Regions from separate parts of the Homo sapiens genome. Here all the other regions are linked to region 1. The links are contacts of gene promoters, found by promoter capture Hi-C in blood cells and fetal thymus (Javierre and others, 2016). All regions are on one chromosome and are shown on one strand. Each heading gives the region's core, a stretch centred on a gene start or on the middle of the fragment in contact. The rest is flanking DNA. Distances are from core to core; before and after follow the strand shown.

What was found. The method cuts DNA at HindIII sites, captures the fragments that hold promoters and counts their contacts. A CHiCAGO score of 5 or more calls a contact.
Region 2: a fragment that was not itself captured here is called in contact with the fragment with the promoter of ZFAT in region 1 in 1 of 17 cell types (naive CD8 T cells); the score reaches 5.2 in naive CD8 T cells.
Region 3: a fragment that was not itself captured here is called in contact with the fragment with the promoter of ZFAT in region 1 in 1 of 17 cell types (fetal thymus); the score reaches 6.9 in fetal thymus.
Region 4: a fragment that was not itself captured here is called in contact with the fragment with the promoter of ZFAT in region 1 in 3 of 17 cell types (erythroblasts, monocytes and naive B cells); the score reaches 7.7 in erythroblasts.
Region 5: a contact is called between a fragment that was not itself captured here and the fragment with the promoter of ZFAT in region 1, in 1 of 17 cell types (fetal thymus). The highest score is 7.1, in fetal thymus.
Region 6: a contact is called between a fragment that was not itself captured here and the fragment with the promoter of ZFAT in region 1, in 3 of 17 cell types (fetal thymus, non-activated CD4 T cells and naive CD4 T cells). The highest score is 9.3, in fetal thymus.
Region 7: a fragment that was not itself captured here is called in contact with the fragment with the promoter of ZFAT in region 1 in 1 of 17 cell types (fetal thymus); the score reaches 6.6 in fetal thymus.

Annotation. Positions count from the first base shown.
Region 1 is chr8:134,711,246-134,714,589 of GRCh38, reverse strand. It overlaps ZFAT (zinc finger and AT-hook domain containing), which reads left to right and starts at 1,559. Exons shown (of 16, transcript NM_020863.4): 1 at 1,559-1,745. The coding sequence starts at 1,727. RefSeq lists an enhancer at 1,548-1,727. The HindIII fragment of the contact is 8,105 bases long and covers 1-2,276 here.
Region 2 is chr8:133,280,309-133,283,942 of GRCh38, reverse strand. All of the region lies in intron 2 of NDRG1 (N-myc downstream regulated 1), which reads left to right. Among named protein-coding and RNA genes, the nearest start is that of NDRG1, 15 kb to the left of the region's middle. The HindIII fragment of the contact is 2,493 bases long and covers 600-3,092 here.
Region 3 is chr8:133,475,060-133,478,593 of GRCh38, reverse strand. It overlaps ST3GAL1 (ST3 beta-galactoside alpha-2,3-sialyltransferase 1), which reads left to right. Exons shown (of 10, transcript NM_173344.3): 4 at 1,994-2,316; 5 at 2,520-2,875. The coding sequence starts at 2,570. Among named protein-coding and RNA genes, the nearest start is that of ST3GAL1-DT, 94 kb to the left of the region's middle. The HindIII fragment of the contact is 1,982 bases long and covers 269-2,250 here.
Region 4 is chr8:133,508,139-133,511,403 of GRCh38, reverse strand. All of the region lies in intron 2 of ST3GAL1 (ST3 beta-galactoside alpha-2,3-sialyltransferase 1), which reads left to right. Among named protein-coding and RNA genes, the nearest start is that of ST3GAL1-DT, 61 kb to the left of the region's middle. The HindIII fragment of the contact is 1,575 bases long and covers 1,028-2,602 here.
Region 5 is chr8:133,447,905-133,451,328 of GRCh38, reverse strand. No RefSeq gene overlaps it. Among named protein-coding and RNA genes, the nearest start is that of ST3GAL1-DT, 120 kb to the left of the region's middle. RefSeq lists silencers at 1,660-1,709, 1,881-2,039. The HindIII fragment of the contact is 4,849 bases long and covers 1-3,424 here.
Region 6 is chr8:132,755,697-132,759,416 of GRCh38, reverse strand. It overlaps TMEM71 (transmembrane protein 71), which reads left to right. Exons shown (of 10, transcript NM_001382403.1): 2 at 502-577; 3 at 2,123-2,183. The coding sequence starts at 538. Among named protein-coding and RNA genes, the nearest start is that of TMEM71, 3.0 kb to the left of the region's middle. The HindIII fragment of the contact is 4,357 bases long and covers 1-3,707 here.
Region 7 is chr8:133,208,358-133,211,821 of GRCh38, reverse strand. The region is part of intron 1 of CCN4 (cellular communication network factor 4); the gene reads right to left. It overlaps LOC102723635 (a long non-coding RNA gene), which reads left to right. Exons shown (of 3, transcript XR_428405.3): 2 at 1-102; 3 at 283-819. Among named protein-coding and RNA genes, the nearest start is that of CCN4, 19 kb to the right of the region's middle. RefSeq lists an enhancer at 1-46. The HindIII fragment of the contact is 1,389 bases long and covers 834-2,222 here.

The DNA.
Region 1 (3,344 bases), core at 310-2,809:
TCTTTTCATGGTTCCGTATTTCCCAAGAACAGGGTTAAGGAGCAGGCGGGCAGTCTCCTGAGAAATCAGATGAGTCATCCTGAAGCTCAATGCCCAAGGGAGTTTTCCTCCTAAAAAATAAGTGACCCCAGAACGAAGTGTTCATTCAGTAATATGACTATGCAACAGGCGCTGAGAAAACAAGATGAAAAGGACCTATAAGGGCTGCTCAGGAAGCTCAGTCTAGTGAGGATGAACGCTGTGCAAACAGAGAAGTGGGGGATGGAGCTAGGCCAGTGAGACCAGAGCTGTGGGAACATGAAGTGTGAACTTCAGGGCTGTCCGAGAATTTCATGTTGAGCAGCAACCAAAGAGGGTTATTCCAGGAAAAGAAGAACAGGCAAAGACTAGCATTTCAGGGGAACCATGAACACAAATCAGTTTCCCAAACTTCAGTCTCCTGAAGTCTGCTTTTACACTTTTTTTTTTTGGGGGGGGGGGGGCATGTCTTTGCAGCATGTACACCATTTTAAGTTGACTGATTTTTGAAAATGTAAACGAACAATTTAAAAACTTTATATGACTACTGTAAGTGAAAAACGTTATTTGTCATGAACAGAAAATGACCTTAGAACATGGACCACATCAACTCATTACTCATGAAATAAATAACTGTCAGGCTCAGTTTGTTTCTGAGGCTAACGGGGTGACCATTGACAGAGGTAAGGGAGGGAGATAATGACAGATAGGAATGGATGCTACGTAGAAAATATGAAGTGTCTTGGAGGGTTACTTTAGATGGGTTTCGGGGGGTGAGGGTTAGGGGCTGGAAGATATCATTTGAGCCGAGGACTACAGTGTTGGAGCTAAACACCTTAACATCAAAACCAAAAACAAAGTCATTAAATTTCCACCAGACTCAGCTGCCTGCCGAAGGCTGTGCCACAAGCAGAGAAATGAATGAGCGGGTGTTGGAGGCGCGCACATCCAGTGCAGACTTGTTGTGGGACAAAAAGAGACGAGAGAGGAGGAAGTCGCCTTGTCACGTGTGATCGTAGGCCGCTCAGTGCTCTGTAGCCCCTAAAACCCAGCCGGGTGGCCCAAAGGAAAGCACCCCACGCTTCGGGAAACGCCGCAGCTTTGAGCGGGATGCAGGTTGGGAGCACCCCGATGGACACATCAGTAAACTGAGAGCAAGAAAAGTTAATTCGCTGCCCCAAGTTAGGTAGTGAGAGGTAGAGCTGGGACACGAAGCGCACCCAGAACTCTCCTTGCACGCCCAGCTCGGCGGCCCCACATGCCGCGGGTCTAGGGTCGCGCTAGCAGAGGCCTGGCACAACCGCCAGACTCCTGACCCCGAGATCCGCGCTCCGGACCTCCCGAGGGCCCCTCCCTGGGCGTGGCTCAAAACGCGGCGCAGCGGAATCCGTGAAGTGGGATAAAAAGCACGGCCTCCGACTGCGAGCATGCGCGTTAGCTCGGCCCTGCCGGGCCGCGCTCGGCGCCGGGGGAGGGTCACCCGAAGCGGACGTCCGCTACGCAGGCGTCTGCGCCCCGTGGGGAGGAGGGCGAAGACTCCATCCGCCATGTTGGATGCCGCAGATTCGCCATAACCTCGCCGGCTCTTTTCTTAAAAAAATAAAAATAAAAAGCGAAGCGTCAGCAGGGCGCCCCGCCCCCTCGGTCGGCACGGGAGGGGGCCCGGAAGAGCCCGAGGCTTTTTTTTCCTCCGCGGTGGGGCGTTGCCATGGAGACGCGGGCGGCAGGTGAGCCGGGCTGGGGGTTGGGGTGAGACGGGGTGGGGGTGGGGCGCGGCGCGGCGCGCGGAAAGCCGTTTCGAGCGTCGAGTCGGGAAGCAGTGCGCCGGCCGCCGGCCGCCGGCCGCCGGCCGCGGAGGGATCCGGGTCTGGGGAGGAGAGCGAACGTAGTTGCGTTCTGCGGCTCACGTTCAGTCGCTGGGGTATCCCGCCGCAAAAAAAAAAAAAAAGCAAGGCGGGAGCGAGTGGGAGAGCATGCGCCCGGCCGTTTCCACGGCAATGGGTGGCGTTGGGGCGCGGGCCAGCGACGGAACGCAGTGGGCGCGAGGTTCGAATCCCGGCGATGCCAGCTCTTTGACTGGACCTTGGCGGGGCTTCCTTCTTGCCTGGCCTCGGATTCCTCCTTGGCGAAATGAGTACCTCCTGCAGGCTTCCCGGCCGCCGGCTGGACCTAATAGAGTGACAGATCTTCCACTTGACACCCGGTGCAAGTCATTTAACCTTGAGCTTGGGGTCCTTCACCTGTAATTACCACAAGCTTCCACATTTGGGCACTGACTTAACACGTTTTGCTGCTCAGCTCTCTTGAGAACTCTAATTTGTAGGTCATTTATTATGAGGAACAGAAGTTCAGAGAGGTCAACTTTACACAGTTTAAAAACGACAGAGCTGGGGCTTTAAAAATTAACTTCCTCCAACTTGGGCTAAAATCCAAACTCCTGCGTGCTCGCCTGACTTGTACCTCCATCTTCTTAGAATAGGGCTTGGCTCATGTAAGTGTTCACTATATACTTAGTGAATGAAAGAACGAACGCGCTAACTGATCACGCCTGCCCATCAGTCTGGCTTTTTTTGCTGGAGTCCAAGTGACCTTTTGGAGATGCCCCGCACAGCTGCCTCTCACCAGCTTTATCTTCCGAGCCTACCAGTTCATCTACTGAAACATCTGTAGTGTGTGTCCCCATGCTGAAGGAAGTAGCGTGTCCTACCTCTAACCCCCAGGGACACCTTTCCTGACTTTAGTTCAAATAACAGCTTTGCAAGGATCCCCTCTGCACGCCAGGCAGGGGTAAAGAGCAGTCCCAGTCGTAGTCCTGCCTCCACCTGCTGCGGTGCTAGATGTGGGAGAATGTGTCCTGGAGTGACAGAGTGGGCCCAGAGCCGAATATTGGGTCAGGAGACCCGAACTATATCAGGCGTGCTTTTTTTTAATTTAATTTTTTTAATTTTTTGGGACAGAGTCCCGCACTATCACTCAGGCCGGGGTGCAATGGTGCAATCTCGGGTCACTGCAACCTCTGCCTCCCGCCCTCAGGTAAACCTCCCGCCTCAGCCTGCCAAGTAGCTGTGACCACAGGTGCGCTGATTAGCTGTGGTGCCCAGCTGATTCAGGTGTGCTGTCTTAGGTTAGCCTAAAATGAGCACCGGAGAGACTTGCTCTCCAAATACAGGTTGAGCATCCCTAATCCAAAAATCCGAAATCGGAAATGCTCCAAAGTCTGAAACTTTGAGCACTGACATGAGGCCACAGTGGAAAATTTTCTATCTGACCTCGTGAAGGTTCTCAGCAGAAATGCAGTTCCATAGCCGGGCGCAGTAGCTCACGCC
Region 2 (3,634 bases), core at 597-3,096, 1.4 Mb after region 1:
TCATTTGTAAAGTGAAGACATCGAACCAGAGGTTCTCTCAGCTTTCCCGTCTCTAACATTCTGTGGTTATAGAACATGCAACATGGGGCCCAGTTGCCCATAGGGACTGCCTGCCTCAGCTCTCATTAAAGCCACATACTCTGGGGCCGCACTGTCTGGGCTTAAATCCCAGCTGTGACACTTTGCAGCTTGGTGTCCACTTGCTAACCTCTCAGTATCTTCATATTCTAGTTCTTCATCTGTAAAATGGTGACATTAGGACTTACCTCATGGGGCCAAGTGAGGATGGAGTGACCTAATTCATAGGGAACAGTTAGAACTTTGCCATAGAGGAGATGGGCAATGCATAGTCACTTTTTCACTTGCTATTATTATCTTTTTGGGCAAACCTCTTCTGTCAACAGAGCTCTTCCTGTTGGAAACAGAAGCCCCTGTCTATAGGCTGGGCTGGCAGGGCCCAGCCTGGGCTGATTGTTCTGAAGATGAATGAACCTTTACATTTGCACAGTTGACACCGTAGCTTCAAAGCATGTTTACATCCCAATTCTCACTTAGCCTCATAACTGCCTCTGATATGTCTTTTTAAAAATGTGGAAGCTTTGGTCCAAAAGTGAAGTTAGTCTAAAGCCAACTAAATGCTTTTAAAAGTGATAATTACCATGCACTAACCACATCCTGCATGCCTGCTTCTCCGCCGACCGTATTTCAACTTTGGTTCATGCAGGTCCCAGGTTCTGTGATCGTACTCATTTTGTAGAGGAGGAAGTTGGGTCTTAGGGAGGTTAATTTGTCTTCTTTGCATAGTTACAAAGTGTGGGACATGGAATCAAACCCAGGCCAGCGGACGTTGGTGAATAGACTGTTCATTTAATTTCCTTATGACTCTACATGTGGCTGCTCTGTTTTAGGTTCATAATTTCATAGACTTTTCTTTACAAATGTGTGAGGCAACCATCTCTTTTCCCCTTTTGCAGATTTAAAAATAAAAACAAACTGGTCCTAGACAGGAAGGGGATTGGTCAAGTTCATCCAGATAGCTGGTACAACTAGAGTTAGAAACCAAGCCTGGGGAGGCTACAGATGCTTGCTTATCATTCCACACTAAGGTCTGCAAACCTTTTCTGCAAAGGGTCAAATAGTAAATATCTTAGGCATTGAAGGCCACATGACCTCTGTTGCAACTGCTCAACTTTGCCATTATAGCAAGAAAGCAACCATAGACAGTATACAAGTGAATGTACTTAATGTGTTCCAACAAAAATTTAAAATGTGGTGAGGCGGATTGCAGTGTGCCAACCCCTACTGTATACTATGCAATTTCTAAATCTGTGTCCTCTAAACTCTGGGTCTGTGACATAGTCTTCTGAAATAGTCAAACAGAAACTTCTAGATAGAACAAATACATATCACCATATTCTTATTTCTCCCTTTTAAAAAACCCTGTGAAAATAGTATCCCACACTTTGCTTTATTCACTTGACATTTCTGGGAGATCTTTTCAACATCAGTCCATAATCCACTTGCTTTTCTCTTTTTAGGTACATAGTATTCCACTACATGTATTTGCCCAGTGCCCAGTATATGAACACATGTGTCTTTCCAGCCTTTTGCTATTACAGACAGCACTGCAAGAAATTTGCACCCTTGTATCTTTCATGTGTGTCATTACATACATGTGCAGGTACAGCCCTAGAAAAAAGTTCTCAGAAGTGGCATCGCTGGGTCCAAGGGTAAATGCATTTAAAACAACATTTTTTATTTATTTCGGGCAGCCTACTGGAATCCTTAGAACATTTTATGTATGAAACACATGTCTAAGAGCTTGCCCATTCAGGGTTACATGCCAGTGCATCTCTCAGTGAATATTTACCCTTTCTTTCAAGGTTTAGACGGAAATAAATTTCTTTCAATTCCTTAGATTGACTCAGCAAAGTATTTAGAGTTAGGCTTGACTATTGGGAAGTTCTTCCTTGTGTCTGTCCTCAATCTAGATTGCCACTATACTCTGATGACGTTTTGAAGGTTGGTGTTTGCTGTACAGAATGGCTTTCCCCATTCTTTCCCACCAGTACACACTCACATGCACATATACACACACAGGGCAATGGTATAGGTGCCAGCCACGTTTGTTTCCACTTGAATTTACCCAAAGTCCCTGATGTTCTTGCCCACAGCTCAGGGGATGTGGGGCTATTTGAATCCCCAGCACGAGGGCCTGTGTTGTCATCTAGTCTTCCAATCCCTGCCATCTAATGGGAGCTCCATTCCATCATCCTGTTCCCCTCATCGCTTTTGCATTTCGCTCTGCTGAGCCGTCTTGTTTTCTGGGGGTTTGTGGTGGGTGAGGCTGGGGCTCAGTTTTCACAGTGTTGGGACTCCATCTCTGGGTCAGTAGGAAAACATGCCAGCAACATCTCTTAGAAATGTTGGCCAGCCAAGACTCCAGTTGGTCCTCCGAGTCACACTTTCACCAGGCCAGAGGGGACACAAGACTTTTCTCTGTCTTCCTGGGCCTGTCCTGCCATGGACAGCTCTGGTAAAAGATAGAATTTGGGCTGAAACTCAGATTTTTTTTTTTTTTTTTTGAGACGGAGTTTCACTCTTGTTGCCCAGGCTGGAGTGCCATGGTGTGATCTAGGCTCACTGCAACCTCTGTCTCCTGGGTTCAAGGAATTCTCCTGCCTTAGCCTCCCGAGTAGCTGGGATTACAGGCATGCGCCATCATGCCTGGCTAATTTTGTATTTTTAGTAGAGACGGGGTTTCTCCATGCTGGTCAAGCTGGTCTTGAACTCCTGACCTCAGGTGATCCCGCCTGCCTCAGCCTCCCAAAGTGCTGAGATTACAGGCGTGAGCCACAGCACCCAGCCTGAAACTCAGAATTTTTAGATTGAGGGAAATGCTTAGAGGTCTCCACTGCCTCTTCTACTCACAAGAGACTGAAATTTAATCCAGGTCCAGATGACAGCAGCCATGGAAAAAATGTAAGGAGGACCATGATGTGGTCAGGTTTGAGTTTTAAAAGTATAGCACATGGGTGGAGCCGGGGAGACCAGTTAATAGTCAGATATCACATTTCTGTATCTCTCAAGCTTGTGATCAGCTTAGACCTTCAGCTTTTTATCTATCAAGGCTATTGTCAGAAAGGAGTCCAGTTAATGTGTCTGCTTTTCTGCTGGACTTCTATTTTGAGATGAAAAGGAAAGTCTCGGCTGGGCACAGTGGCTCACACCTGTAATCCCCAGCACTTTGGGAGGCCGAGGCAGGTGGATCATGAGGTCAGGAAATCGAGACCATCCTGGCTAACATGGTGAAATCCCGTCTCTACTAAAAATACAAAAAATAAAAATAAAAATAACTGGGCGTGGTGGCGGGCACCTGTAGTCCCAGCTACTCAGGAGGCTGAGGCAGGAGAATGGCGTGACCCTGGGAGGCGGAGCTTGCAGTGAGCTGCGATCACACCACTGTACTCTAACCTGGGCGACAGAGCAAGACTCCGTCTCAAAAAAAAAAAAAAAAGAGAAAAGGAAAGCCTGCCTTTGTGAGGAATTAAGGAGACCCCACAAAGGAGGAAGTGTAGGTACAGATTCAGGTCATAGAAAGGCCCATATGTCCCAATATTATTTCTCTTACAGA
Region 3 (3,534 bases), core at 10-2,509, 1.2 Mb after region 1:
ACTGTGACCTCTGGGTCAGTCACATTGCTTCAAGTTACAAATAACCTACTTTACCCCATAAAGGGGATTTATTCCCTCATGTAACTGAAAAGTCAAGGTGAGGGTGGGGCTGCAGGTTGAGCAGGATCAGGGATTTAGCACCATTTGTTCGGGTTGTTCAGCTCTAGTCTCTTCTACACACGCTAGCAAAATAGCCAGCAGGATGTTCCACATGTCAACAACAAGCCAGCCAGAGCAAAAGAAAGTTTCTTCCCTCCCTACAGAAGCTTGGCTGGATGAATTAAGGCACATGCCCATCCCTGGATCAATTACTGGGGTAAGAGGTGGGAACCCTCTGCCAGTCAAGTGAATTGTGAGCCTATCTGTGATGATGCAGAAGTTATTCTTACTTAAATTACAGAGCTGCTCCTTGATGGGGGCAGGTGGGGAGAGAATTGGATGGGATACCTGTGGACACCACTAGGTTATAAACAAAATCTAGGTTGTCATGAAAAGTGAAAACTGGAGCAGAGACCGGATAAAAATGACGTTGCCAACTGAGCTGCAGAGCTCAGACCTTGTCCTCCATACGTTGGGCTTCTAGTTCTGGAAGCTGTAGAGGGTTGCACCCTATGCATCTTGGGCCCTGGATGTCTTCAGAAGGGCACTGTGGATTTAATATGGTTTTGGAGCTGTCCCCCTTTCTACCAAAAGGTGATCAATCTCCTTTCAACTCTAATTTTCCTGGAAAAAAATATACCCTGCTTATTGACAATCTACACCTTGAGAATGGGGAGGAATCGATCAGATTTCTTCCATTCTTCAGCATTCCAAGCAAAGACCAAAAAGACCACGCTCCAGGGCAGACGTGCAACCACAGTTGTACCATACAGAAATCCCAAGGTGTCGGTGAGAGCCAGAGGGGTCTCCGATGGGCATTTGAGAGGTACCTGTTTGCCTTCTTCAAAAGAATACTCCCCCCTTGCTCTATATCCCTCCAGCCGTAGTAATCTGAAGACCAGTTAACAAGACAGGTGTCTGCTCCAGGGTAGAGCCCCCCAACCCCCTGTTCCTGGTCCCCCAACCCCTCCCGATGTAAGGAATCAGAGGACTGTGGATTTGGACTCGGATCCTGCTCCTTCCTTTCCTTAGGCAAGTCATCTAAGCACTTTGAGTCTCAGTTTCTTCCAAGACAAAAAGGGAAACTAATATCTAGCTGACAGTATATTCTGAGGATTATCTGAAGAGATACGTATGCATGAATATCTCATCCTCTCAGCTCTTAGTGGATCATCAGAGAATATTGATTCATTCACATGTTGAAGAAGAAAAATTAAAGTTCAGCAATGGCCTAATAGATACCAGAAGCCCAGCATACATCATTTTATCTTATCTTCATAACCATTCTATAAGTAGGGGTGTTAGTATCCCACTTTGCAGAAGAAGAAACTGAGGGTCAGGAAGGTCAAATAACTTTCCCAAGGCTCCACAGCTGGGAAATCAGAACTTGAACCTGGACCATCTAAAGCCCCTTTTTATGGAACTGAGGCCAATTGGCAGAGCTTGAATGCCCAGGTAAAAGGAACCCTGGGCCACTCTCTAAGCATACCATTGTTGTTGTGCTTGTTGCTGAAATCCAAAATCTGGAAGAGAATGAAGTAGAGAGAAAGGCAAATAACATGCATTTAACAATTCCTGTGTATATTGTACCTACATGCATCACGAGCTCTTTGACAAATGTTTGTTGAGTGTGTCAATGTGCTAGGTTCTTGTTGGAAACATGGAGGGGACACCTTCTGCATCCCATAATAACCTTGCAAAGAGATGATAACATCCATTGTATGCACGCACTCAGGCTCACAAAGGTAGATAAACCATCCAGAGCCACCTGCCAGGTTGGCATGACACCAGAAGGAAGACCACGGAATACGTCCTGGTGGAGATGTGGAGAGAAACATTTTTTATAGCAGGATCACAGAATCTCACGCTGTTTTCTTCCTCCTTTTCTTTGCAGATGACAGACAACCTTCTGTGCCTTCATCAAGCTGGTTGTGTACCCACCATGTCCCTGGCGACAGGATGGGAAAGAAAAAGCCCTAATTAAGGATCGTCAGAAACCACAGTTGGAGGAGGACGGCAGAGACAGTTTCCCTCCCCGCTATACCAACACCCTTCCTTCGAGGTCCTCGCTCCTGAGGGACCCTGGACTGTCACAGAGATTAATGACCCCTTATCTTCTTTGGATGTGAAAGGAAATCACTGGTTAAAGCTTGATCGAGAGACATTATCAGCTCTTTAAGGATTGCAGAAGAATAGGCTACTTTATTTTCTGAAAAGGTAAATATATGCAAGCAAAGCCAACATGCCACGAATGGCGTTGGTCTACCACACAGCCGTGTCTGGGACACAGTTGGGGGTCATCCCCCAGCAGGAGTGAAGTCGAGCTTAGCGGCCCTTGTGTCCTCCCTTGGAATTCCTGCCATCCCTTTTGATTGAGCCTCCACCTCTGGGATTTTTCTTCCATTTTTCTCCTCTCTTAGGAGGGAGTTCCTGCTACCCATCGTGGGAGGCCACCATCAGGACTGCGAAGATGGTGACCCTGCGGAAGAGGACCCTGAAAGTGCTCACCTTCCTCGTGCTCTTCATCTTCCTCACCTCCTTCTTCCTGAACTACTCCCACACCATGGTGGCCACCACCTGGTTCCCCAAGCAGATGGTCCTGGAGCTCTCCGAGAACCTGAAGAGACTGATCAAGCACAGGCCTTGCACCTGCACCCACTGCATCGGGCAGCGCAAGCTCTCGGCCTGGTTCGATGAGAGGTTCAACCAGACCATGCAGCCGCTGCTGACCGCCCAGAACGCGCTCTTGGAGGACGACACCTACCGATGGTGGCTGGTGAGATGCTGCCTGAGAGCGGGGTCTGGGCTGAGAGTTGGGGTGTGGACTGAGAGTGGGGTCTGGGCTGAGAGTGGGGATCTGGATAAGAGTGGGAGGCCTGGGCTGAAAGTGGGAGTCTGGGCTGAGGGTAGGGGTCTGGTAATGAGAGTGAGGTGCTCTCAGAGTTAAATGCTCAGTCCCCGTGTACACCTGGGGCCCTGCCAGGCAGTTAGTAGGATTCAGATTATTGTCCCACACTATTTATTGAGGATCTATTATATCTAAGTCAGAGCAGGAAGCACGGCTTTAGTTTCCTGTGGCTGCCATAACAAATTTCTGCACAATTCATGGCTCAAAACACCAAAAGTGCATCCTCTTGCAGCTCTGGAGGCCAGAAGTCTGAAAACAAATTATGGGCAGACTTGGCTCCTCCTGGAGGCTCTGAGGGGGAAGCCGCCCCAGGCCCGCTCCTGGCTCCTGCCAGCTGCCGGCAGTGCTGGGCGTTCCTGGGCTCAGAGCTGCAGCAGTCCAGCCTCTGCCTCCACTTCCACAGGGCCTTCCTCCCTGTATCCCTTTATGTCTCACATGTCCCTCTCCTTTTCTTATGAGGACACCTGTCATCAGGTTTAGGGCCCACCCTAATCCAGGATGATCTCATGCAGAGATCCTCAACAATT
Region 4 (3,265 bases), core at 566-3,065, 1.2 Mb after region 1:
TAGGCCAAGGGCCAGTCACATACTAGGTGTTCAATAAATACAACCACCCTTCTGTTATTAGATGTGCTGGAACAATTCCATTACACTAACTTTTGCTACTTTTGCAAGAACCACAGATTTAATGCCTATCTACCTCCCCATAAGTACTGTTAATTAAAGTCCCCAAGCCCAGATAACCTTGCTTTCCTGTCCTTAGCAAGCTCTGGCTGGACAAGAATTTTTAAAATGTGTTTGTTGATCTTTTAAAACCCCTAAGATGAGTATTTACTGCCAAAATGTGCAAGTGTATCACAAGGATTTAATTCAGGCACTAGATAATAATGCTGGAGATTTAAAGAAGGAAAATGACGAGGTTTTCATTTCTTTGCCCTCTATCTGCTATGGCTACAAGCACTTCTGTTTATCATTTAAAATCCTATTTGAAAAGGTCACTGGTTATTTGCGTGAATCATACAGTGTGAGGACTTAGGAAAAAAGAGCCAAAGATTGGCCGCCGCAGTCACCTGCTTCATTCCCTGTCCTTCCCCTGTGATGGAGTTTGCTCCGAGTCTCTGCTGTTCTCAGCTTATGGTGGCCACCATGGGGTACAGGAGGACCACTGGGTCCAGGCAACATGACGCTGTCAGTAATGATGAGAAAACCAGACACTGCTCAGAGTGCATGGAGTTTGTAAATCCACTTGAAATTGGGCTGGTGCAACTGAGGAACGGTGCTTTAAATTTTATTCCATTTTAATTATTAGCTAATTATTTTAATTAATTAGCTAATTAATTAGTGGCACTAATTAGTTAATTAATGCAATTGAAAAACTGCATTTTAAACTGAAATTTTCAATCCACTCTCATTTTTACTTGCATTCCCATTTTACAGAGGAGAAGTCTGAGGGTCCAAATGCTTTAGCACAGGTTTAGAATTGCCCGGCATGTACATAGTGGACCCGCTCTCTTCAGATAGGTGCAGACTATCTCTGAAAGCTCACTCTGCCTCAGTTCCTCTCTAACGATGTGCAGCAGGTATTCACCAAGCTTCCAGTAGCCTGTGTTTCACATGATGTGAGGTGAAGGGGTGATGGTATATTTATTGGCCTCGTATCTGATAGTTGCCTGCACATTGTGCCCAGAGAAGCACTTTGGGAAGTGGAGCTGGTGTTCAAAAGGCCACTAATTGGCTTATTCCCCAGGATTCATCTTCAGTTGTTGAAATCTATTTTTTGAAAGGCTTAACCTGGGAAGTCCCCTGAAAACAGGTGTGTGATGCAGTAGGGACAGCGGGAAACCAGGGGAAGTTTCCAGAGAGAAGTGTGAAGAGCCATTCTCCATTGCTATTTTTTTTTTTTTTTTTTTTGAGACAGAGTTTCACTCTTGTTGCCCAGGCTGGAGTGCAATGGTGTGATCTTGGCTCACTGCAACCTCTGCCTTCTGGGTTCAAGCAATTCTCCTGCCTCAGCCACCCGAGTAGCTGGGAATACAGGCGTGTGCCACCAAGCCCAGCTGATTTTTTGTATTTTTAGTAGAGATGGGGTGTCACCATTTTGGCCAGGCTGGTCTCGAACTCCAGACCTCAGTTGATCCACCCGCCTTGGCCTCCCAAAGGACTGGGATTACAGGCGTTAGCCACGGTGCCTGGTCCTCCTTCACTAATTTTTGCTGGGTTACATTCACTGCCCTCCAGAGGGACATGATCAGCTCTGCTTCCCTCACTGACCTCGTCCTGTAAAATTATCCCTTTTACTCAGCACACCTGTCCCACACCGGCTGAATACCACCAGCTACTTTCCACCCTGTGATCTCCCACTGGCATGTCCCTCCGCCTGAGCTCCGCTCTCCTCACATGGTGTTTGCAAGCGGCTCACTCAGGAGCTCAGTCTCATGGTCCCCCTGGTGCCCCACGCCCTGTCATTTGCAGTGATGTTCTGTGATCCTCACAGGAGGCTTGTGAAGTCCTATTCTCATTTTACAGATGAACCTTAGAGAGGCTCCATAGCTAACTCAGAGTCTCCCGTCAAGTGAAACACAAGGGTGGAACCCACGTCTGTCTGGCCCTAGACCCTGTGCCTCAACTGCACAACCAGTGTTCTCCGATAGAACTTTCCCAGTGATGGAAATATTCAATATCTGTACTGTCCTGTTCAGTAGCCGCTCACTGCATGAGGCTACTAAGCACTTGAAATTTGGCTGGTGACACTGAGGAACTGTGCTTTAAATTTCATTCAGTTTTAGTTAATTAGCTAATTATTTTAATTTATTAGCTAATTTAGTTAGGAACACTAATTAGTTAATTAATGAGTGCATCTGAGGAACTGCATTTTAAACTTAAAATTTAATTTTAATTGGAAATAGCCACATGAGGCTAGTAACTGTAAAGAACTGTGACAAGCCTGAGATGTCTCCCTATTTGCAAGCTGACAAATTAGCCTGCTGACAGATGCTGGCAGAAGACAGGAGCTTCCTGGATCAGAGACAAGGGACTTCATTACTCAAAGCACAGCGGGCAGCCAGCTTGAGTTTCATACTTGCGTCATTTCTGCTTGCCTCTAAGTCTTATGGGGTTTTGTGCAAAAGCATTTACCATTATCTGCACTGTTTTGTATGATGCACAAGCTTTCAGAGAGGGACTATATATTTCACTCCTCATTGTATCTCCAGTATCCCAAAGAGAGCCTGGCACATTCTTGGGACCCAACGAGTCTTTACTAAATGACCAATGGCTCTGGTTCCTCACAAAAGCCAAGAGTCTGGACTCGGTGGTTATAGAGGATCCTCCCAGCTCTTGAGAAAGGTCTCTGAATTTGAGCGAGTGCCCTGCTTCTGAGATTGTCTCTTCCTTACAGTCGCTGCAGAGATCAGCCTCAAACAGGGATCTCAGTTTCCTCCCTGTAGAACCTGAGTCTGGGACTCCGTGCACGTAGATTGCAGAGGAAGTGTTCCAGGGAAAGGGTGGGGGACACAGGGCTACGCAGGGGAGCTGCTGAGCAGGGATGTGCTCCCAGCTAGAGTCAACCTTCAGCCTGATCCCACGGCCAACCCCAGAGCACAAACTGTACCATGAGGCTGTCCCACAAACCTGAAAATTTGGCCTGGACTCAGGGACATTTGGGAGCCTCAGAAGATTATAGGCAGCAGAAAGGAAAGACAGGAATCCGATAATTCCACATAAGAAACGTGTTCTGGACTCTGGAGTCCAGGTAGTTTGGTGTTTGAATCAGACTCCAGGTGGCAGTAGGGAAGAGAAATGAGTGTGCCTCCACGCTGTTGGGGAAAGATGC
Region 5 (3,424 bases), core at 109-2,608, 1.3 Mb after region 1:
GCTTGACTCAGAACACAGCTGCAGGTGGTTCCTGAATCAATCCCTCCATTAGCTCAGAGCCCATACTGAGGGTAATGGGATTGAGGCCCTAAGACCCCACCCACTTGGAGACAGAAATCTGGGCCTCATCAGGCTATAGATCACGAAGCCCTGGGTCTGCATGTGGCCTGCAGGGAGTTGAATGAGATGGTCCAAGGAGCAAAATACAGGAAAGGAGGTTAGAAGAAGCAGCCAGGGAGGCCACAGGTCTCTGGCTTCGTGGTGCCTCTGAGGCTATAGCAAGGTCACTTCAAGGAGACTGAGGCCTTGCCCTGGTGACGCCTGTCCCCAGAGAGGTGAAGGGGCACCATGTATGGCCTGGGTAAGAGCAAGCTCTCTTTGGGATGGAGGTGGAAACTAGGCTGGAATAGAGTAATAGCTACAAAGACCCATGTATAAGGAGTGAGTAGGGCACTCCAGCAGTGTACCAGGAGAGAAACAGGGAAGGGCCATGAGGGGTGGGTGCAGGGTTAAAGGAGAAGGTCACATATTTGAGGAAGGATGCTTTGTCTAGCAGCAGAGACTGCAGCAGACTTAAATGCTGTCCAGAAGGAGCCAGTAGAGAGAGGAAGATGCAGCAGAGAGAAGGAGGAGTGTGGAGCAGGGCCCTCGAGAGGGAAGGGGCTTGGAGGGACCCCCGCCTCCATCACAAGAGGATGGTGAGGGGCCGGGGTGGGGATCCAGGCAGGGGCAGACAGCTTTAGCGGCACGAAGCTGAGGTCATTGCCGTCTGATAGCTTCCTTTTCCCCTAGAGTTGGGGAGATAAAATGCTGAGCTGAGGCGAAGGCAGGAGGAGAGAACAATGGAGGAACGTTTTCCCATGGACTGTGAACCGTCGGAGAAAATGACTGTGAGTACAGGCAGCTGGTGGCTAGGGTGGAGGGCCGGGTTGAAGTTAGAGAGGATGCGTTAGAGGGCGCCATGACTGGGTCATGGACACCCATGGACAGTCACAGGCCCCAGCAGTCAAAGACCGGGGTCCACGGATAGACCCTCTCTGCAAACCGGGAACAGTGATTCCGGGGGTGTCTGCCTCACAGGACTGTGATAAGCGAATGTGCTTTATGTATATATTTCACTTGGCAAATACGCACTGAGGGCCATGGGGACTAGAGATACAGAGATGGGCAAGAGAAGGTCTCTGCCACCAGAGTGTGAGAGTTAGTGGGGGGACGGGCGGGCAGCCAGACAGCTGCAACACCCATGAAATAAAGGAGCTTTTAATGACCGCGGCTGGTTCTTTTTCACACGCTGGCAACGGGGGCTGAGTGCTTTACCTCCATTAAGCTCGTTTAATCCTGCAACAATCCTGCCAAGAGGCATTGGTCTCTCGAGAGGGGAATTTAAAGAGGAAACTGAGCTTCACTCAAGGAGGTTAAGTGACTTACCAGGGGGTTAGGGATGTAGCCAGAACTTAAATCGCAAGGGCTGGGGTTCCTGAGTCCCGGGTAAAGATTGCAAGTGCGCCATACTCCCCAGGGGTGTGGGGACAGGGGACGGTGTTGCTCCAGAGAAAAGCACTTTGAAGATGAGTGCCCATGGCTGGCTCACGGCGACAGAGCTGGTCCGGCCCAACGGCCAGGTTTATTCATTAGGACCTTGGCCAAGAGCGCCTGGTGATGGTGGCCACCAGAGGGCGCAACGGACCCACCTTCCACCAGATTCAACATGGGGTTTGGTTGGGAACCAGACACAAGCTGAAAACCTCAAGGGAAAAGCCACACACCCACGTGTAAGGCCAGAACTTAAAAGAACTTGATCTTAGATAGTAACAAGGACAACACCTTCCAGATGAGGAGATTATATCTCTGTCATCCAGCTAACAAAATAGATTGAGAAGAAGTCTGTGTCCAGTTGGAAAATGTCAAAGCCCCAAGCAAGGGTGAGTGTCTGACCAGCTGCCCACGGCTTCACAGGGCCACGTGGCACCACCGGCTCCTGCCTGCCCAGACCTCCACACCTTGGTGTTTCTACTTGGCCTCCCTCTCCCACCCTTCATCCTTGACTCTGCAGTGATTTCTTAGCTGTGTGACCAATGGGGAAAACCTGACTTCTTTGAACCTCAGTTTCTTAATCTATAAAATGGGTATAAGGTGACATAGTATATATTAAGGAAAGACGGCAGGCAGACTTTTCTGAGTCCTTTCTGTGTGCCAAGCATTTCACACGCATTTTCTCCTTTAATTCTCACAACAACCCCCATGAATGACATGGGGGTGGTATCCTCATGGAAGATCTGAGGCACAGAGACTATTAGTTATGTGTCTGTAGCCACAGTTCATAACTGATCAACCAGGGTTAAAAACCAGGTCTGATTCTGTCTCAGTCAGGACAGAAGAGGCTGCTGCTACAATACTGACAAACTCCACAATCCCAACAACCTAAGATGGAACAACAAAGGTTTCTTCACTGCCGGGTCAAAGTCTGATGGAAATTGCAGTGTCCTACGTGAGCCCTGCATGTGGCGGCTCAGGCTACCCAGCTGTTTTCATCTTGGGACATTGCCAACTTCAACTTCAGCATGTGCCTTTCAAGGTCACTGCACAAGGGGAGAAGGAGATAAAGGTGGCTTGTTGGCTCCTAACTCTCCCCATGGAGTCGATACCCATCGCTTTCAATCAAGCTCTGGAGCCAAAACCAGCTACATTGTCCAATCAAAGCTGTAAGAAAACTGGAAGGTGCCTTGGAGCCTCCGGAACAGTGGAGGGGCACTAACCAGCTCCCTCATGCCTCTCCTCGATATCACAGGCCTGGACTTGGAGCCGACTGGTGAGAGGCTCCTGGTGCTGCCCTTGTCAGTGCTGAGCGAACACAGGCCGAGTGCTCCATTCTGCAGGCTCAGTGGGACAGACCAAGGCAGACCCTCGGCAGGGACTCCAGGGGACAGGAGTGCTGCAGGCTCAGTGGGGTGGACAGACCAGGGCAGGCCCTCGGCAGGGACTCCAGGGGACAGATGTGCTGGGATCAAGGCTGTTTACCCCAGTCTCAATCCCTGCCTCCTGCTGTCTGAAAGGCTGGTGTGCTGGATAGGAGCTGGGTGTGCTCCTGGTGGCCTCTGGCCCCTTCTGCAAAAGCCTGTTCCTACTGCAGACTCTGTGATGGCTGGGCTGCTGTCTCATGGGGAAGTGAGCTCTGTCCTCAGAGCCATATGGGCAAAGGCTGGAGAGTTGCTTTTTGGAGATGCTATACAGCAATTTGGACATCAGGGAAGAAACAATGGAAAGAGAGTGGGTTCTGCTAATGAATCCAGGCCATTTGCTATTTTGCAGACAGCTGGCTGCTTCCCTACACTGGCTTCTGGTGCCTCCGTTTCCAAATCTGTACATTGGAGGGCTTGGAAAAAAATCAGTCTGTCTTACAATTTTTTGCCTAATTGCTCACTTC
Region 6 (3,720 bases), core at 280-2,779, 2.0 Mb after region 1:
CACTCTCTGTGACTACCTGTCAATGGTTCAAGTTGTTGGGAAAAAGACAGACACCAATCTCCAAGCACTGTTTGAAACTTGATAATGAAGTTGACTTGTGTCAGATGATTAAAATACACGTAAGTTTGTTTTGGGGCTAAATGACTGTTAGAACCAGTCATTTTATTAAGATTTCTTAATCAAATACCTCACTTTCATTATTTTCTTTGGATTACAAATCAACCTTTTTAAGTCTAGATTTTCCAAATAAAGTGTGGTTCTTATTTACAGAAAAATGTTATTGAGATGCACTGAGTGAGGCAATGGAAAATGTTCAGTCATAGAGGCAGACACAACTTTAGAGGGGTTGTGTCTTCAGTCTGGTCTCCTACCTTCAATTCTGTATCTCTGTATTATTTCAGTAAACAAATCTGACTAGTGCAATTAGTAGATGCCATCTGTTTTGGCATAATTTTTCTATTTTTAATATATAGTCCACCTTTTTTTTAACATCTTTTGCAGAGAATCTGTGAAGTTTGAGCAAGCGGCCTTCCCAAGATGTACCGAATATCTCAACTGATGTCAACACCAGTAGCAAGTAAATGTAGAAGAACTGTGATACGCAATTATCTTTTGAACGATTAGACTCCTTTTAGCAATTTCCTTGCTTTGATTTTGCTGATACTCAGACCATTAACCATCTGTCAGTAGCTTGTGCTTCTTAAATGCCAGTGTTCACTTTGGCAATGATTTTAACTTCATTTTTTTCCTTGAAAGAAATGTGGTATTTTTCCTTCTAGTAGAAAAAAAAAAATCACCGTTTTTTTTTAGATGCCTGTGCATAAATGTGAAAGGAGATTGTTTATCAGCTACTATTAAGATGCAAAACTGTTTGTATATAAAAAATGCTGAATGATTTTGATAGCTACTTGCAGAAAATAAGAGCGCTGTTAAAACGGTAGTGGTTTCAAGTTTCTTCCTTCCTCTTGTTATTTTCTCCCAAAACCCCACTTCTAACTCTCCCTCACACACCCACAGTTTTCTCCCTACAAATCAACCAGCCCAATCTGAAAGTCTAAATTCCTTTCTTTGTCCTAGATACTAATTGTCCATAATGGAATCAAATTTCACTAGCTTGTCTGTTAGGACTATTGACACCATCTCTGCACACGATAAAATTCTGCTTTAGAGTTTAGAATATTAATCAACTCCAACTTTCTCCAAGTAAAGTCTGTTGCCACGCCTTTGGTTAAAATGGAACGAATGAATGGATGATGTTTCTATAATTAAGAATACTCACAGTCTTTATACTTTGGAAAAATGTTATATAAAACAAAACAAAACTTTATTTCTTCCCCACTAATGTCTTTTGCTCATTATTTTACAGTAGAAGTGTCTTAATATGCACTAATGAGGGAGAGTCTAGAACAATGATTGAATTCCTCAGATTACTGAGTAAGCTGCAATAACCAACACATTGGGTAATTGATTTGGGTTTTCTCCTGCTTCACACAAGACGTTTTTTCCCATCCTTACATGAGCTCAGTTTGATGCTAATGATTTATTATTGCCTCATTCTGCACTAAGAAATTTTTTTTTTTTTTTTTTTTTTGAGACAGAATCTTGCTCTGTCGCCCAGGCTGGAGTGCAGTGGAGCGATCTCAGCTCACTGCAAGCTCTGCCTCCCAGGTTCACGCCATTCTCCTGCCTCAGCCTCCCCAGTAGCTGGGACTGCAGGCGCCCACCACCACGCCCTGCTAATTTTTTGTATATTTTAGTAAAGACGGGGTGTCACCGTGTTAGCCAGGATGGTTTAGATCTCCTGACCTTGTGATCCGCCCGCCTCGGTCTCCCAAATTCTGAGATTACAGGAGTGAGACACTGCGCCCGGAACTTCTAGAGTGTTATGTGGATGAAGGAACAGAAGATAGAAGCCTCTAGTTTATGTCTTGCTTCCGGTAGATCCCTGGTGATAAGGGTACCTGCACTACTGGAGTCTTCCTGCTGAAGCTGGAACATCAGCTATTCCCATCTTCTTACATGCCTCCACTGTTTGCAATTATACATATTGATACATGTATCAACATATGTAACTGTTGATCAGGTATGATACATTCTACTTCTCTCTCATTTGTTTATGCAGGTTCTTCCAGGTTGGAAAGAGAATATGCTGGAGAGCTGTCTCCCACGTGCATTTTCCCAAGGTATACTATGGGGCTTCTTTTAAAAAAATAATCATTCTGGCCGGGCGTGGTGGCTCATGCCTGTAATCCCAGCACTTTGGGAGGCCGAGGCAGGCGGATCACGAGGTCAGGAGATGGAGACCATCCTGGCTAACACGGTGAAACCCCGTCTCCACTAAAAATACAAAAAAAAAAAAAAAATCAGCGCTGCGTGGTGGCGGGCCCCTGCAGTCCCAGCTACTTGAGAGCCTGAGGCGGGAGAATGACGTGAATCCAGGAGGCGGAGCTTGCGGTGAGCCGAGATCCCACCACTGCCCTCCAACCTGGGCGACAGAGAGAGACTTGTCTAAAAAAAAAATCATTCTTCGCTGGGCATGGTGGCTCACCCCTGTAACCCCAGTACTTTCGGAGGCCGAAGTGGGTGGATCACCTGAGGTCAGGAGTTTGAGTCCAGCCTGGGTAAAACATGGTGAAACCTTGTCTCTACTAAAAATACAAAAATTAGCCGGGCATGATGGTATGTGCCTGTAATCTCAGCTACTCGGGAGGCTGAGGTGGGAGAATCACTTGAACCTGGGAGGCAGAGGTTGCAGTGAGCCAAGACTACACCACTGCACTCCAGCTTGGGCAACAGAGCGAGTCTCAAAATAATAATAATTATTATTATATTATTATTATTATTTTCCTGTATGTCTTGCTTTGTTGTATTATTGGTTTGAAATTATTATTTTAGCTATCATCTAGTTTTGAAAGGTTATTTCTTTTTGGTGCCATGTACATACTAAATAAAAACTTGCCTAATAGAATAATGAATATATATATATATATATATATATATATATAATATATATGTTAGTGTCAATATATGGGCAGTTGTGAATTGTTTCTCTGGTGAGTGGTGAAACTATTGAATACTGATGAATTGTTACTTTGTCTCAATCTGATGTCTTTTTAAATATGCTTTCCTATCTTGTTTTACAAGAGCAACAGAATTCTATACCAATGGCCGAATTTTATGCTCTACCAAAACATGTGCAGTCTACCATTTTCTTGAAGTACTACAAGGAAGTCTTTTTTCTTTCTTTTTTTAATGACTCTCTGACTGTCTCTTATTCCTTATACAGACATCAGTTGATGTTTCCCCTAGCATTGTGAAATGTGCCTATAGCATAAACAGATCATATATTCATTTTAGGACCTGCTCCTTCTTGTAAATTGTAGGCCTCCTGATACTAGCAAACGAATCAATATGAACAGAGGCACATGTGGAAAGAATCCATGTTTTAGAGTCAGATAGACTAGGCTTCATATCATAGCTCTGCCACTTACTAGCTATGTAAAATATCCAAGTAATTTGCTGTTTTTGTAAATCATTTTTTCCTGCTATATGATGAGGATAATGATACTTAGCTTGTAGAGATTTGTGAAGAGTAGATAAAGGGCAAAATAGGGGGCCAGGCTCATGCTAAGTGTTCAATAACTCTCATTAATTTGAAACAGTATTTTATTACAGGGCTGAGTGCATATATTCATTGTATATAAGCTTTTAGATGTAAAA
Region 7 (3,464 bases), core at 279-2,778, 1.5 Mb after region 1:
GAGCGGGGACGGGAGCCAGGCTTTGAGTCAGTCCTCCCTCTCCTGGGCAAGCCATGGATCATCCTGCCCAGCACTTCTCGTCCTTGACGGCTGAGTTCTGAAGTAAGCAGAGGAGAATCCAGGGCTTCTGTGGGGCTGGGACAGGGGGCTGGCTGGGCTCTGGGCTGCTCCCTCCATCTGGAAGCAGAGGAGCCTGCTTTGTGGGATCACAGATCTGCTTTCCACTCGGAACACCAGGCTCCGGTGCTGAGCTACTCAGACAAATTCTTTCCTCCTTTACAGGGGAGGAAGGCAAGACCCGAAGAGACAGATGGACACTCCCAGGATGACACAGTTCACAGCAAGGCCAAGATGCAAATTAATCTCCTAACTCTCATTACAACAGCTTCTACTTTTGCCTCTTCTGGGTTCTTTCATTCACTCAACAGACATTTGCAGAGTTAGCTCATAGTCTCTCTTAAGTTTTAGATATTTGAAGATAAGCGTTAAAAGTCCCTATGATTGGGGAACCCACAGCTTATGGGAGAGGCAAGTATTAGAGGTGATTTACTACAACTCGAGGGATTTACTGCAACTCGAGGGATTTACTACGCAAAGTGCTGGGCATTCCAAGGAGGCATGGAAGCTCTCTGAACACCAGGGCAGTAACTGCTCTGCCCAGGAGAGTGGGGTCCACTCTTGCACCTTGAAGGACCAGGGATGAGGAAAGTGGTTCAGATGAATTTCTGAATTAGTCTGACTAGGCTCTGAACCTGGCGCACAATAAATGTAGTAAATATTGATGCAATAAATAAAGCCCTTGCAAGTCAACAGACAAAACCCGACTTGAAGCTTTCATCTCCCATAGGCTTGATTTCAGAACTTGGTCAAATCCACCCTTTCCCTACCTCAAGGCCGCTGCGATGCAGTTCCCTGTGGCTGAGAGGCCCTTCCTATCTTTTTCACCTGGGGCCCCTTTCTCTGGGCGGACTCTCCTGACTCGCTGACCTGCGTGTGTCTGGCTTTCCCTTAAGCCACTAGGCAGGCTCAGAAATTAGACATTTGTGTGTGTTTGGAGGTTAATGCCGGTGAACTCCATGGGGTGAGGGCAGGATGGGGCAGGCCCCCACAGAGTGCCTGCACATTGCCAGTCTTCACTGGGGACATATGGGTGACTTCTCTGTTATGGCCCAGACAGACACCAGAATGGCCAAAAAAAATCTTGCCTGCAGCCCCCTGCAGGGAGGAAGGCTCTGTGGGCGATGTGGCCTTGGAAGGCCTTGCTGGTAGGGAACAGAGAGCTCTTGGGGTTGGCAGTTCTGGGTGGTTCACCGAGGAGGCACTAGTTAGCCTGCCCTTGTTCATATTTCCTCAAAAACACAACAGGATGCAAGAAAACCCTACATATCCGAATCAGTAAACACACACACACACACACACACACACACACACACACCCCTCTTTTTGACTTTGGGGAGAGACATTTCCTTGTTAGGCCATGATTCTAGAAGCCTCAGAGCCTCATGAGCACTAGCAGACCATCTCTCAGAGCCACCACACTCAGGACGTGCTCTTGGCAGAGGAAATAAAGATGCCCTCTCCTCCAGGAAGGCTTCCCTGCCCTTACCTCGCTCACTGGAATGTGAACTTGGAAAGGGCAGGGCCCGGGCCTTGCATCTCTCTGTGCGCCTGAAACACAGCACAGAGCACACAGTAGGGCTTCATATGTGTTGACTGGTGAAATGGATGGATGGGGGATTGTCGGCTAAAAAGGCTTGGATATCTATGATATTTAAGGCATCATGTACTGGAACCTCTCCTCTGGGCCCTAAGTTTGAGTGTCAAGAAAAGAACATGCAACCTGAGACAGTCCGACGTACGTTCTTTCCGTGTGGCCTTGGAACAGCATCTTCATCTTTCTGAGCCTCAGCATTCCCATCTGTGATATGGGCACAATCACACTCACCTCCCTTTGGGGGCAGTTGGAAGGGTGAAGGGGCATTGTGGATGTGGCAGCACTAGGTAGGGCCTGGCACATGTCACATGGCACACAGAAGCCTGTCTCCTCTTACACCCATTTGGTTGTGTGTCCTCCCTGACCCCACTGTGCCCAGAACAGAGTTGGGGATCTGGACACTTTGAGCTGAGCTGGAATGGGTTGGAACCGGGTGGGTATCCCACTCCTGGGATCACTATCCATCCTCCTGTCTCCATCCCAAGTTAAAGATGCCCAGAAGGAAGCTTCCTTTCTAAGTGCCTGGAGGTGCCAGGGCACACAGCTGGTGAGGGGAAGCTGCAGAGAAGTCCTCCCTTGGACAGGGGAACCATTTATGGCATCCCTGGGCAGAGGAGGGAAGGGCTGTGGGCAGTCGGCTGAGCCAGCCTTTGCAATTGGCACCATCTAGTGGTAGAAAATCTCCCAGACTCAGGAGAAGGTGCTGGACAAGATCTGTGCAGGGGAAAACCCTCTGGACCCCAGGGCATGAGGACTGCTGGGTTTGGTGTGTGAGCCTCTGAGTGCCAGCTGCCTTGTCCAGCACTGACACATACCTAGGGTATGTCCAGCATAGACGCTTACCTAGGATTTGGGTCTGCAGGCCACAAGTGAGTCCTGACTCGTGATAATCGATCAATCCTCACCTCTCTGTGTGAGCACGAGGGAAAGCAGATGACTGGCGCAAGGGCGGTTTCCGCCCTCCAGCACTGACAGTTTAGCTGGGGATGTGCACGATGACTGAGTCATTCTAGGGACCGAGGATTATTGAATCCCTACTATGCACAGGATTTGTGCCAGGCTGGGAGGAGACGAAGGTGCCTAAGACAGAGCCCCTGACTGGCTCCCCACCTAGTGAGGCCAACAGACACATAAATAATGATTGCAATTCAGTGCAATCAATGCTATAACAATGGCATCCACTCATTTATTCATTCTCCCTTTCATTTATTTATTCAACACACCTGTAGTCAGCTTTTATTTTGTGCCAGGTGCAGCACTAGGTGCTGGGGATGCAGTGTGAGAGCCAAGCAGACCTGCCTGTGGGATGACAGGGGAGTGGCTGGGCTGTGTGTGTGCTGGGGCTGAAGAGGGCTTCCCAAGACAGGAGGCACTGGGAACGGGTTTTGAAGAGGGGGTGGGAATAGATCAGTGAGGAAGCAGGAGAGGGTACCCAATGCGCAAGGACCCTCAAGTGCACAGGCACTGAGCTGGCAACATGTGCCAGGGCCTGGGGCCTGCAGAGCCTGGTGTAGGGTGCAGGGTGGAGGCAGGAGGAGGCGAAGGCTAGGACGGATGAGGATGGGTTCAAGGCACAGCATACATCAAGGAAGACCTTGAATGCCTTGGTTTGGGCTGAGGTCTGGAAGAATGGTTTATTGAAGGATTTTAGCAGGAGGATGGCAGGGTTAGATTTGTGTTTTAGAAACACCACACTGTATCCAGTCCAGGCTTTGTCACTGTTCATGTTACTCTGGGAGTTCACTTTCTG